Linked DNA regions of Homo sapiens: regions 1, 2, 4 and 5 are each linked to region 3. The links are contacts of gene promoters, found by promoter capture Hi-C in blood cells and fetal thymus (Javierre and others, 2016). All regions are on one chromosome and are shown on one strand. Each heading gives the region's core, a stretch centred on a gene start or on the middle of the fragment in contact. The rest is flanking DNA. Distances are from core to core; before and after follow the strand shown.

Region 1 (2,700 bases), core at 13-2,512, 1.9 Mb after region 3:
AGGCGGAGGTCGCAGTGAGCCGCCTGACTGAGAGAGCAAGACTCCGTCTCAAAATAAAATAAAAAAATAAAGGTCAGATGAATAGCCCTAAAGGAGGGGAAGGAAGGGAGACAGCACCGAATTATTAACCCGATCTTTAAAAATCTTGTGTTGTTCTAAGGTTTCATGTCTAATCTCTCCTTTCCTTGAAGATAAAAAGCTTTGACAATGATCTAGGCCCAGGGACTAGATCAACGTGGCCCCCGCATCTCCTTTCCTCACCTCCCGGATAGCCCTTAACTGGGCGTCCCACATTCCCAATTTCACCCCAAATTTATGAGCAGGTGCATTTTTGCGGTATGGCTCTATAGGTTTTATTAGATTTTCTTTTTTTCTTTTCTTTCTTTCTTTTTTTTTTTTTGATAGTCTCGCTCTGTCGCCCAGGCTGGAGTGCAGTGGCACGATCTCGGCCCACTGCAACCTCCACCTCCCGGGTTCAAGCGATTCTCCTGTCTCAGCCTCATGAGTAGCTGGGATTACAGGCGCGCGCCACCACGCCCGGCTATTTTTTTTTTTTTTTTTTTTTTTGGTATTTTTAGTAAAGACGGTGTTTCACTATGTTGGTCAGGCTGGTCTCAAACTCCTGACCTCGTGATCCGCCCGCCTCGGCCTCCCAAAGTGCTGGGATTACAGGCGTGAGCCACCGCCCGGCCGGTTTTATTAGATTTTTTCAAAGAAGTCCACGACTTCTCCAAAATGAAGTCCTGATTCTGACCCAAGCTGCTAGCCTCACCCTCGAAAAAACAACTTAGTAAAAATTATATTCAATTCCGGCATTTACCTACAAGGTAGTTTCGATAGGTACTTCCGATTTAAAAACTCAGTTTCGCACAAGCATCCAGGCCCAAACCCAGGTCCTCAGAAGCTCAATAAAAACGGACCACATGAATAATATGTAGATAAAACCCTCGGTTTAAAAACGTTGTGCAGGGCCCAGTAGGGCCGGCAAGGCCGCGACGCGGGCACGTTGGGGTCACCAGCAGCGGGAAACACGCGGGACGCCCGGTCCCCGCCGGCGGACCCTTCCCGGCTCGGTTACCGCGGAGGATTCAGAGGAGAGTCACCTGAAGGCTGCTGCTGCGGTTGCTGCCGTCCTCCTCCTGCACCCCTAGCACCGGGATGTTCGTTCCAGCACCGATCTCCAAAGCGGCACCGGCCTTGAAGGAAGAATTGACAAATGGCCATTGCGACGGCGTCGCTGACGGAGGGCGTCTTCAGTCTGCACCGTTCGATGCCTGTTACTGGGCAGAGAGCCCTAAGGCAACCTCGGCGCCCGGCCGGGCTACTGTGACGTCATCTTCTCGCGCCTGGGAAGGCCTTTTTCCGCCTCTCACCCGGCAGTGCCATGAGACGCATGGACTTGAGCCAATAGGACTTGAGAAGAGCGGACCGCTCTGACGCTTTGAGTGTGTCCTGGGAAGGAGGGATGCTTGAACGGTTACGTGAAGACCGGAGGCGCGTTTGACCCCGGTGCAGGGCCTCGGACTACAGGAAGGCTGGAGGTCCAAAATGAGAGGAAAGCGGAGCAAGCAAACGCAGAACTTCAGCAAGGCCCTCAGAGGAGAATTAGCTATGATTTGAGAGACTGAGTCGTTCTTGCTGAGACGGTAAAACTTAGCTTGGGCTGAGAAAGTAACAAACTGCCTAGCCTTTCATCTGGATGGATAACAGAGTCAAATAAAGCCAGACGACGTTAAGAGGAAACAATGTTTCTTTTAGGACATGCTGCAACGGAAAAGTATTACCACTTAAGTACATTCTTACTACACACTGAGAAACCTTGTTATTTCTTCTTTTTTTTTTTTTTTTTTGAGACGGAGTCTCGCTCTGTCGCCCAGGCTGGAGTACAGTGGCAGAGCTTGGAGGCAAGCTCTGCCTCCAAGGTTCATGCCGTTCTCGTGCCTCAGCCTCCCGAGTAGCTGGGACTACAGGTGCCCGCCACCACGCCCGGCTAATTTTTTTGTATTTTTAGTAGACACGGTTTCACCGTGTTAGCCAGGATGGTCTCTATTTTCTGACCTCGTGATCCGCCCGCGTCCGCCTCCCAAAGTGCTGCGATTACAGGTGTGAGCCACCGCGTCTGGCCGAAACCTTGTTCTTTCAAGTCCACATAAACGTTGCTATTTGAAATTATATCAGAACGAGTGAAAAGTCCCATCCTTGCCTGGAGGATCTAAGTCTCTTTGACGCAGAGAAGCAGCCTCAATTTCTATCCAGGTGTAGAGCTTCAGATAAACGGTTCTGAAAACATTCTGTATTTTCTTAACTTTGCAGTTTCCAAGGAAACATGCCCTACATTCAATTCTCGTCCAGACCTGATGTTAATGCCTTTACACACAGCTATGCTTTGAGATTTCATTTAAATTTCACCTAAACTTCACTCTCCCCGCCAAAACATACAATAACTACCTTTTATTTTGTACGGTGAGACACACCACAGCTCCTCTGGTGTGCAGTCTTCTTGATTGCAATAAGTCAATAGATCTGACTTTGTTGGATTACAGGTTTGTGCTGGTGGTTTTAGGATTATTGAGCTGGGAGTGAGCCATCATTCTTGCTCATGTAATTTGTTTGGATTTTGAAGACAGCAGAATCTACAGGACGGGAACTACTTGTCCAAACTAGTTTTTTATTTTCTTTAATCAATGCAATTCATTTATT
Region 2 (2,700 bases), core at 112-2,611, 1.5 Mb after region 3:
TGGCTAATCATACCTTAAAATCTCTCATTCAAATCTCATTTTTGCATCTATTCAGTGCTCTACATTTTGTGCCATTATAACTATAGCTAAAGTAACTATCAACAGCAATAGCAGCAACTAGCAGGCAGAGAAGCTTTCACTCAGCCAAAGGTACTAGAAGAACTACTGCCTATTAGTCTCCAAAGGAATTTCAGCTAGAGAGGCATAGATTTACTACAAAAAGACACAGTATGTTCACCACAGCTCAGAGGTTCAAATAGTTCTCTCCAAAAACGACCCAAAAAAAAGTCCTCCACAGACTTGACCCCGGAATGTAATTTCAGGGAAAAAGGGGCATTCCTAAAATATTTTCTCTATGTAACACTGCCTGAGGCTAATATGGTGGTGGGGGGGGGGGGGTTAACACAGAACACAGCCATTCGCTCCATAATAAGGTCTAAGATTTAAAATGCACTGCCTTGAGAGAAGCTACACTAAAATTCCAGCTAAGATACGGAAATAATGAGTGTCAAGATATCAGATCATTTTTAGATGGCACATTTGGGAGACAGAATAGAAGACAATAGCACTGAATATTACAAAAACAGATAAAAGAAAAATGGTAAAGTGAGGCAGGGATAAAAACAGAAAATGTTAAGGCAAAAAGAAAACTAACCATTATGCTACAGTAAAAGTTTAATTTAAAATATGGCCTGGCGTGGTGGCTCATGCCTGTGATCCCAGCACCTTGGGAGGCTGAAGAGGGCGGATCACTTGAGGTCAGGCATTCAAGACCAGTCTGGTCAACATGGTGAAACCCCATCTCTACTAAAAATACAAAAATTAGCCAGGCATGGTGGTGCATGCCTGTAAACCCAGTTACTTGGATGGCTGAGGTACAAGAATCGCTTGAACCTGGGAGGTAGAGGATGCAGTGTGCAGAGATCGCACCACTGCACTCCAAGCTGAGTGAAAGAGCAAGGCTGTCTCAAACTAAACTAACTAAACTAAAATATGCAATAAAATAAACTATGCAGGCCGGGCTCCAGGGCTCACACCTATAATCCCACCATTTGGGAAGCTGACATAGGCAGATCACTTGAGGTCAGAAGTTCAAGACCAGCCTGACCAACATGGTGAGACCCTGTCTCTACTAAAACTACAAAAATTAGCCAGGCATGAGGTACAAGAATTGCTTGAACCCAAAAGGTAGAAGTTGCAGTGAGCCAGCACCACTGCACTACAGCCTGGGTGACAGAGTAAGACTCTGTCTCAAAAAAAAAAAACAACAAAACCTATATATATACATATACATAGACACACACTATGCAGCACTAGATACTTCAATCACAGAGCTTCACCTGTCACAGCCGTGGCCAATCATGTTTTGTGCCACATGTCCCCACCTCCCCTTCCAAAGCCAACTAGGCTAGCATCTCTGGCCTCAAACAAAGAGGCCCCAGGGAAAACCAGGCAGTTGGCAGAAGGAGCTGAAGGAGAAGTCATGAAAATAAATAATAAAGTTGGATGAGGGGATTGACAAGCTAAAGTTATGAAGAATCAGGCACAACAGGTATAGGGGCTATGAGCAAAAGATACAGAGTAGGGAGAAAGAGAACAAAGCATGTCAAAAATGCAGAGAAACTGTGCAGCTCATGAGAGAGTGATAACTGGCTGGTAGAGATTCTTATTTCTGGCAGCTTTCTTGTTCTCTTAAATGTATTCCTTCTTTCAAGGTAGTTTGAAAGAATTATATGACCTGAAGCAGGAAGAAACACTAAGAACACAAATGACTAAAAGGGTTTACACAAATTTTGTTTCCACATTTAAAAAAAAACCTCTAAAAACCTTTATCATTGAAAGTCTGAGCTAGAAGAGTCCTTGGAATCAGACCAATTCACTATTTTAGAGATGAGGACATTGAGGACCACAAAGTAATCTCAGGTTACACAGATAGTGACAGAGCAAGGACAAAACTAAGGACTCCTATTTCCGTAGCCATTACTCTCTGTCCTACACTGCACTAAATAACACCAACATAGAAACATTTTCCTCAAAACAAGTATTTTTGCAACACATTTTAGAGTGAGAAATTATTAATCAGTGAGAAGATGCAGACAGATGTAGAAAAAAGTTGACCCAGGTTAAATATGGTGAAGCCCAGAGGCAGGACTGTAAAATACCTGGATGCCTACTCTGACGAAACAAACACTTAGCGCCTCTAAGGATTCCCAAAGGACACACCTGAGGGGGAGGGGAGAGGTGAATACTTGTACCTCTGAAGCTGATCCACAGAAAAGCAGAGTCATCAATTTCCTAAGAACATTCTCAGCCATCTTAAAACAGCAAAAATTAGGAAGACGGCATATTTTAATGAATCCTTTGGTTAGGTTTAAGATAAAGTGAAGAACACACAACCCAGGATGATTAAACAAACAAAAGCACAAAACTCAAGTCCAGAGGCCACTTCGGTCACTTCAGTCATAGCTAATGAAAGTATCACAAAGGATCTTTTCATCAAATGAAGAACTAATGACGTTATAGGTCTATATTCCTAATTCTAACCACTTACAGGTGTGTGTTTTGATGGATGAGAAAACTCAAGCTTAGAGCCTTTAAGTAACCAAGATCACCAAGGCAGGCAGTGAGAGAAACCCAGGCAGGATTCGAACCCTAGCTGGCTGAGCCATTCTCATTACCGTCACAGTCAACAATCAACAC
Region 3 (2,700 bases), core at 201-2,700:
ATATCTTGAGTAGAAAGACTTAGAGATTAACCTAACTTATCAAAAATAATAGCTATAACAACTTTTCAAGACATAGTATAATAATATATAAATAGAAACAAGAAAAAGTTTTAAAAGTGGGGAGAGTGAAGTTAAAGTGCAGAGTTTTTCTTAGTTTTCTCTTTGATTTTTGTTTATGCAATCAATGTTATGTTGTCATCAGTTTAAAACAATGGGTTATAAAATATTATTTGCCCTGGGCGTGGTGGCTCACACCTGTAATCCCAGCACTTTGGGAGGCCGATGCGGGTGAATCACCTGAGGTCAGGAGTTCGAGACCAGCCTGACCAAATAGTGAAACCCCATCTCTACTAAAAATACAAAAATTAGCTGGGCGTGGTGGTTTGCTCCCGTAGTCCCAGCTACTTGGGGGGCTGAGACATTAAATGGCGCCACTGAAGAAGAATGAATAAGGTCTAGTAATACAACAGGGTGACTACACTCAACAATAATTTATTGTACATTAAACAAACTAAAAGTATAATTGGATTGCTTGTAACAGAAAAAAAGGATAAATGCTTGAGGTGATGGATAGACCGTTTACCCTGATGTGATTATTATACATTGTATGCCTGTATCAAAATATCTCATGTACCTCTTAAGTATATATATATATTTACCTACTTCGTACTCATAAAAATTTTAAAAGGTACATAAATGTTATCATTGCATCCTCTTAATTTTATTTTTCAGTTCCAGAGGGATAATCCTGTCTCTGCCGCAAATGCAGCACCTTCCTCAGTCTTGGGGCGTCCATCAAGCGGAGAGCTGGAATGTGACTGAAAGTAACAGAGTATAGGTGGAACTAGAACAAGGTCACGAGCTGGTGCCCAACTCGTGTAACTCCTGGTTCCAGGCTGTCCCTCTAGGATGCTGTTGGCGCCAGCCGTGGTAGTAGGACAGAGTCTGGGTAAAGGTCGCCTGCTGACAAGATGGTAGCTAGGAGACCTCTAGGTGCGCCAAAATTAGGGCGTCTTTTCCTGGACCGGCAAAACGCCCTGCTCAAAGCTCATTACATCACCACGCCCAAGAACTGATACTTTAGCAGGGCAACGCACCAACCAAGCGACTCCGCCCCACCCTCCCCGCTCCTCCAGCACACGCAAGCGCACAGAGGCCCGCGAGTGACGTCACCTCTCCCGACACCACCTCGTTGTCGTACGACCAAAGGCCTGTCGTAACGGCCGGGAAAAGCCTCGAGAAGAAGGGCACGCACGCCGTACACCCTAACATGCTCGCCAGCATGCGCGCGCAGGTCCTTGGCGCAGGCATTGGGACTGGAGCCAATGAGGTGCGGCGACGTTACTGCGTAGCCGCCAGCTCGGCCGCACGTCAGGGCGCGGGAGCGCGGAGCGAGTTTGGTTGCACTTACACCGGTACTTAAGCGCGGACCGGCGTGTCCTTGGACTTAGAGAGTGGGGACGTCCGGCTTCGGAGCGGGAGTGTTCGTTGTGCCAGCGACTAAAAAGAGGTGAGAGCGGGTCGCGGAGGCCGCACCTGGTTAGAGGCAGAGCTGTGGGAGGCGCGCACTTGCGAGCGACCGAAACCCAAGCGGGGAGCATTCGAGTGGAGCCCGCGCTGGGTGGGAGGGCGGGGAGTGAAGACCCTGGACTGTGGTCAGACCGAGCTGGGCGAGTAACGGCTTGAGGTGCGGCGGAGCCCTAACTAGGGACAGGTATGGTCTCGGTCAGGGACTGGAGGCGGCTTGGATACAGATCCGAGGAGGAGGCGGCCTCTTCCGTAGTGGTTGCTGAAGGGCTATGGAAATGATAGGCAAGACTTCCCTCCTGGAAAGCCGAAGCTTAGAGCTTCACGTTCTTCTTCAGAGGGCAAAAGCTGTTGCTCTTCTAATAAGGGGCCAGTTCTTTTCGTGGGCACATGTTTCTTCCGTCAGTCGTTCTGACATCCTAGAAGGAGTTTCATCAATCACCTTGAAACCGACCTGGACGGGTGACCTCGTGGTCGCCCCAGGAGATCACAGGTAGGGGAGTTGGGATGTCCCCGGGGGACCGTGCAGCCTGCCCCTGAGCTCCCATTCACAAGTTCGAGTGTCAAGCTACTCCTGTGACCTGGGCAGATAGAAACAGCCAGGACCGCTTTTTAAACATTTGTGTGCTTTGCGTTATCCTCAGGGAGAGGTGGCTTTACATTGTAGTAAGATTAAATGGTTAGGTCTTTTTAAAAGTTGCGGTTGTGGTGATTTTGGCTTAATGTGTTCGCCCTTGAGCTTCAGATCTGTGACTTCGTGACCATGATTGTCTCTTCTGAAACTGGAGTTTGAATTAGGTTCCCTCTTTGCTTGGGCTTTAACGTTCCTTCACGTATACACACAAAAATACGTTTTTGAGGAGGTACTCCTAAAAATGTTTTTGGTATTAAAGAATATTTGGTATAAAGAGTATTAAAGCAAAACAAGATTCATTCTGGTATTTAATGACATAAATTAGCAATGGATTGGTAATTAAGTGGCTAGAGTGGTCATTCATTTACACTGTATTTGTTACCTGAGGAAAAATTTACTAAGTTGAAGCTTTCGTTTTTAGAATTAAATATGGGTGATGTTGAGAAAGGCAAGAAGATTTTTATTATGAAGTGTTCCCAGTGCCACACCGTTGAAAAGGGAGGCAAGCACAAGACTGGGCCAAATCTCCATGGTCTCTT
Region 4 (2,700 bases), core at 82-2,581, 1.6 Mb after region 3:
TTTTTATCCATGCATCAACTGATAAACATTTGAAATATTTCAACTTTTTGGCTATCATGAACAATGCTGCTATATACATTTGCATACAAGTTTTCATGTGAACAAACATATGTTTCCCTTCGGTATATACCTAGGAATGGGATTGCTGGGTCATACAGTAATTCTCTGTTTAAGTTTTTGAGGAACTGCCCATCTGCTTTCCAGAGAAGGTGCACCAGTTTACATTCCCACTAGCAGTGTATGAAGATTCCAATTTCTCCATATCCTTTTCAATACCTGTCATTGATTGTTCTTTTTTCAACGTTATAGTAGCCATCTTAGTAGGTGTAAAGTGGTATCTCATTGTGGTTTTAATTTGCATTTCTCTAAGACTCATGGTGTTGAGCATCTTTTCATATGTTCATTTGCCATTTATATATCATCTTGCTTTTTTTTTTTTTTTAGAGACAGGGTCTCCTTCTGTCACCCAGGCTGGAGTGCAGTGCTGCCACTGTAGCTCACTGCAGCCTCCAATTCCTGGGCCCAAGCCATCCCCCTACCTCAGCCTCCCACAGTAGCTAGGATTATAGACCCACACCAACATACCCAGCTAATTACAAAAATATATATATATATAATTCTAGCACTTTGGGAGGCTGAGGTGGGAGGATTGCTTGAGGCCAGGAGTTGTAGGCTGCAGTGGGCTATGAGGTGACAGAGCAAGCCCCTGTGCCCCCAAAACACCAAAAAACAAAAACAAAACAAGAAACTAAGAAAAAAAAATTTTACAGCAACAAAAGCTAACAATTTTTTAAAATTAAATAAAAAATGAAAAAAAAAACCAACAATTAGAAAATGAACAAAGGACTTCAGTAGATTTCTCCCTACGGAAGAGATATAGCCTGGGTATGGTGGCTCATGACTGTAATCACAGCACTTTGGGAGGCGAAGATAGGAGGATCACTTCAGGCCAGAAGTTTGAGATTAGCCTGAGAAATATAGTAAGACCCTGTCTCTATAAAAAATAAAATAAATAATAATATAATAAATAATTAATAAGTAAATTTTTTAATAGAGAAGGGGTCTCACTATGTTGCCCAGGCTTGTTTTTGCTTTTCTTTTTTTGAGACGGAATCTTGCTCTGTCGCCCAGGCTGGAGTGCAGTGGCGCGATCAAGGCTCACTGCAGTCTCCGCCTCCCGGGTTCACGCCATTCTCCTGCTTCAGCCTCCTGAGTAGCTGGGACTACAGGTGCCCGCCACCATGCCCGGCTAATTTTTGTGTATTTTTAGTAGAGACAGGGTTTCACCATGTTAGCCAGGATGGTCTCGATCTCCTGACGTTGTGATCTGCCCGCCTCAGCCTCCCAAAGTGCTGGGATTACAGGCGTGAGCCACTGCGCCAAGCCGCTTGTTTTTTCTTAAACTGTAAGCGTTATTTATTTACTCTAAATACTAGACCCTTATTAGACATATGATTTCTAAATATTTCTCCTTTTCAGTGGATTGTTTTTTCTCTCTGTTGATATTATCCTTTAATGCACAAAAGTTGTAAATTTTGATGTTCTAATTTACCTATCTTCTCTTTGAATGTGGTTGATCTTTCTCTCTTTCAGTGTTGAGATCTAGTTCCTAAGAACTGGCTAAATGCTATGGGTTAATTTTGTTGTGTTCTACTCTGAGTGCTTGAGGTGATAAAATGTTTGTTGGTTGGTTGTTTTTTTTCTTTTAAGACAGTGTCTTGCTCTGTCACCCAGGCTGAAGTGCAGTGGCACAAATACTGCTCACTGCAGCCTTGACCTCCTGTGCTCAAGTGATCCTTCTGCCTCAGCCTCCTGTGTAGTGGGGACACAGGCATGCACCACCACACCTAGCTAATTTTTTAAATTTTTTAGAGACAGGGTCCCACTTTGTTGCCCAGGTCTCAAACTCCTGGGCTCAAGCAGTCCTCCCACCTCAGCTTTGCAAAGTGCTGAGATTACAGGCTTGAGGTACTGGGGAGGCCACAAAATATATTTTTGGCCGAGCACAACAGCTCATGCCTGTAATCTCAGCACTTTGAGAGGCCGAGGCCAGGGGTGGGTCACTAGAGGTCAGGAGTTTGACACCAGCCTGGCCAACATGGCGAAACCCTGTCTCTACCAAAAATACAAACATTAGTTGGGCATGGTGGCAGGCGCCTGTAATCCCAGCTACTCGGGAGGCTGAGGCACGAGAATAACTTGAACCCAGGAGGAGAAGTTGCAGTTAGCAGAGACTGTGCCACTGCACTCCAGCCTGGGAGACAGAGCCAGACTCTGTCTCAAAAAATAACAGTAATAATATTAAAAAGAAGAGATAGCTCATGCCTATAACCCTAGTGCTTTGGGCATTCCCACATCCACCACTTTGGGTTTAATAAATTTGCTGGAGCAGCTCACAAAACTCAAAGAAACATTACAAAATATATGGTATGGGGGAAGGGGTGTGGAGCTTCCATGCCCTCCCTGGGCAAGCCACCCTCCAGGAACCTCCAAGTATTAGCTATCTGAAAACTCTGTGAACCCAGTCCTCCTGGGTTTTTATGGACAATTATTTGGAAATGTGATTGGCCTCTCTGGAATGAGGGTCTTATGACCCACAATCAGAAAGGCAGGGGAATAGTATTGAGTCCTGCCTTGGGTCAAGTGAAAGGAGTAGAGGAGAAGGTCAAAGAGGCCTGAGGCCTGCAAGAAGCCTAACAC
Region 5 (2,700 bases), core at 162-2,661, 1.6 Mb after region 3:
TGTTGGCCGGGCGCGGTGGCTCACACCTGTAATCCCAGCACTTTGGGAGGCTGAGGCGGGCAGATCACTAGAGGTCAGGAGTTTGAGACCAGCCTGGCCAACATGGGAAAACCCCATCTCTATTAAAAATACAAAAATTAGCCAGGCAAGGTGGTGCATGCCTGTAATCCCAGCTGCTCAGGAGGCTGAGGCAGGAGAATCACTTGAACCCAGGAGGTGGAGGTTGCAGTGAGCCTAGATCGCACCATTACACTCCAGCCTGGGTGACAGAATGAGACTCCTCCTTCTTAAAATAAATAAGCTAACATCTCTTAAAAAGACATTCTATCATACCATAATGCTTTGTTGCTACTCCAAAACTGGGATTTAAAATTGGAATTTTAAGATGTTACTGAATTATCTTGTTTACTTTAATAAAAGGTTTTTATTTCCATCCTAGTAAAATTAAAGAATTGTAGTGTTTTACAGAGCAAAGCCTCCTGTGTATGTTTGAGAAGGACTGTAGCAGCGTTCGTAGATAATAATCCAGCTATTGCTATTCAACAGTAGCATAAATGAATGTTATGTCACAGGGTCTGTTTTGTGGAAAGGAAAGCCAAAAGAGAAGAGGGGAAGATACTCTTATGAGTTTGATTAATGAACCAGTCTGTGAAACTTAAATTACAAGCAAATTAGCCATGCCTTTTTTTATAAGATACTGAATATGCTGCTTTCATAGTTTCAGTGAATGAAAAAGCCCAGATTGCTATGCCTGCTCCAGACATCTGTTGAGTGGTTTAGAGTATCTGAGATGCAGTGAAAGACTTGTAGGTAGCTAAATGGGAAAGGTTGGTATTGAGCTGAAAGGTAGCTGTGTATTTCAGTTTTGTTTTTATCTGAAAGAAAATGACCAGGTGGCATTTGTACAGTTCTTGATAAATAAGTCTTGACATTAAACTTGAAGCAAAGGAAAAGTTTTCAGAAAGCTGTTTGAGTTGTGTGATAGTCTTAAGGCATAAATAAATTGGTGTGAAATTACTTCTGTGAAATTGAGATAATTATTTACACTGATAATCAAGGCTTAACTGGACACAGAAACCAAGCTGTCCATCCTGTTTTGATCATAAGTGCCTCATATCTGTGCAGTTAAAAAAAACAAGCTTATGATCAGTAAGTTATTTTATTTGGAATGCTTTGATTTACACCCAATTTTTTCAGAAACCCATCACTTTTTGGATATAGAATATAGTCACTGAAGGGAGTACCAGTATACATAAATGCATAAATTATGTAAAAACTGAACATAATTCTAAAGAGATGGAATCAAAGATAAAGACTATGATATAAATTTTGTACCTTCTTGCACATTGTGGTATGTCGTGGATAATAGAGCATTTTAAAGTGATCTGGTTGCAAAAATGTGTATATCAGGAATTAATAAGCTAATGGGGAAATTTTAAGAATTTCATGCTTATTAGTTTTTTCGGTATGTTTGTCTTCAGAACATATTTTAAGTCAGAATGAGCAAAGATAGTAGTCAAAGTTGGGAGAAGGTGTAATTTTACTGATTTTTTTCTTTTTGACTTATTTGAACCTTGACATGTGCTATGGGTGAGTTTAGATAGGTGTGTACAAATATTTCAGCCTGGGATGCCTTGCTCTAACTATATCTTGATTTCTTAGCATGACTTAGTGAAAGCTTATTTTTAAGAATCTTCAGATTATAAAGTAGTGAAAATTTAACACTTAGGTGGGGGGAAATTATAGTTGTTAGATTTATATTTGAATTATATTAAAATTGCTCACATTTTAGGAACTAGAATGAAACATGGGAGGAGGGTGAAGAGTATGGTTTAAAAAGCATTTAGAGAAATTTAGTAAATTCTCTTTGTTAGAAACTAGAGTTTTGAACAATTTTAAAGACTATAAAATTGTTTTTTTTTTTTTTTTTTAAATAAACTAGTTACTTGCACTTTACCTGCTGGCTTTTCCATTTGGTAGATAACATTCTGAACTCCAGCAGAGTTTTATAATCCCCACGTGCTTAAATATACTAAATGTTCTTTTTCCATTAAGGTTAATGTTCGTGAAGAAATTGAAGAGTTTTTTCCAAGAATGTGGAAGATAAATCAAGATAAAAGAAGGCTAATGAAAAGTATTAAAGATCAGAAAATTAAAATTGAATGGGGGAAAAAATTGAACAGAAGATTGGTCAGATAGAAGCACTTGAATATTTTTTTAAGGCTATTTTGAATTGTTTGAATTGGGGAAGAATACACGAAGTATGAAAAATGAAAAACTCAATGAAGAATGAAGAGAAGTAGAAAGCAAGAGTGAAGTAGAATTAAAAGAATCTGGAAGAATGAATGGGTCCTAGGTTAAGTAAATGTATGGTTTATGTTCCAGTGTCTGTATGATCAAGTTGTAGATGAATTTGCATGATTACTTAGTTAATAGAGAATTGGTGATCTGGTTCAAGTAGGGAATTATTGAGGACAGTTAGCAGTATTAACAGTGGGTTATTATTGAGCTGAAATTTTTTCTGGAGGGTGTTGTCTAACCATTTGTTTTTCAGGAGCAATCAATATAAATAATTACGGTACTTTAAATGTTAGGTGTTAGGCATCTACATGACCAGTGCCATTTGTAATACTGTCTTCTTTGTTAGGAGTCTCGCTCTCAGTCAAAATCTCCAACGGGAACTCCTGCTCGTGTAAAATC

Evidence for each region. The method cuts DNA at HindIII sites, captures the fragments that hold promoters and counts their contacts. A CHiCAGO score of 5 or more calls a contact.
Region 1: a contact is called between the fragment with the promoter of NUP42 here and the fragment with the promoter of CYCS in region 3, in 3 of 17 cell types (naive CD8 T cells, fetal thymus and total CD8 T cells). The highest score is 6.8, in naive CD8 T cells.
Region 2: a fragment that was not itself captured here is called in contact with the fragment with the promoter of CYCS in region 3 in 3 of 17 cell types (monocytes, non-activated CD4 T cells and activated CD4 T cells); the score reaches 6.1 in monocytes.
Region 4: a fragment that was not itself captured here is called in contact with the fragment with the promoter of CYCS in region 3 in 1 of 17 cell types (naive CD4 T cells); the score reaches 5.7 in naive CD4 T cells.
Region 5: a fragment that was not itself captured here is called in contact with the fragment with the promoter of CYCS in region 3 in 1 of 17 cell types (fetal thymus); the score reaches 6.6 in fetal thymus.

The regions. Positions count from the first base shown.
Region 1 is chr7:23,180,610-23,183,309 of GRCh38, reverse strand. It overlaps NUP42 (nucleoporin 42), which reads right to left and starts at 1,262. Exons shown (of 7, transcript NM_007342.3): 1 at 1,104-1,262. The coding sequence starts at 1,224. RefSeq lists enhancers at 898-967, 1,068-1,667. The HindIII fragment of the contact is 4,881 bases long and covers 202-2,700 here.
Region 2 is chr7:23,598,074-23,600,773 of GRCh38, reverse strand. All of the region lies in intron 2 of CCDC126 (coiled-coil domain containing 126), which reads right to left. Among named protein-coding and RNA genes, the nearest start is that of CCDC126, 2.0 kb to the right of the region's middle. The HindIII fragment of the contact is 2,451 bases long and covers 136-2,586 here.
Region 3 is chr7:25,124,010-25,126,709 of GRCh38, reverse strand. CYCS (cytochrome c, somatic) reads left to right here and starts at 1,450. Exons shown (of 3, transcript NM_018947.6): 1 at 1,450-1,510; 2 at 2,583-2,700. The coding sequence starts at 2,591. It also overlaps a transcript of SPMIP4 not described here. RefSeq lists enhancers at 1,040-1,289, 1,437-1,980, 1,981-2,525. The HindIII fragment of the contact is 6,168 bases long and covers 1-1,842 here.
Region 4 is chr7:23,540,235-23,542,934 of GRCh38, reverse strand. No RefSeq gene overlaps it. Among named protein-coding and RNA genes, the nearest start is that of TRA2A, 9.6 kb to the right of the region's middle. The HindIII fragment of the contact is 3,051 bases long and covers 1-2,700 here.
Region 5 is chr7:23,521,788-23,524,487 of GRCh38, reverse strand. It overlaps TRA2A (transformer 2 alpha homolog), which reads left to right. Exons shown (of 8, transcript NM_013293.5): 2 at 2,648-2,700. Among named protein-coding and RNA genes, the nearest start is that of TRA2A, 8.8 kb to the left of the region's middle. The HindIII fragment of the contact is 539 bases long and covers 1,142-1,680 here.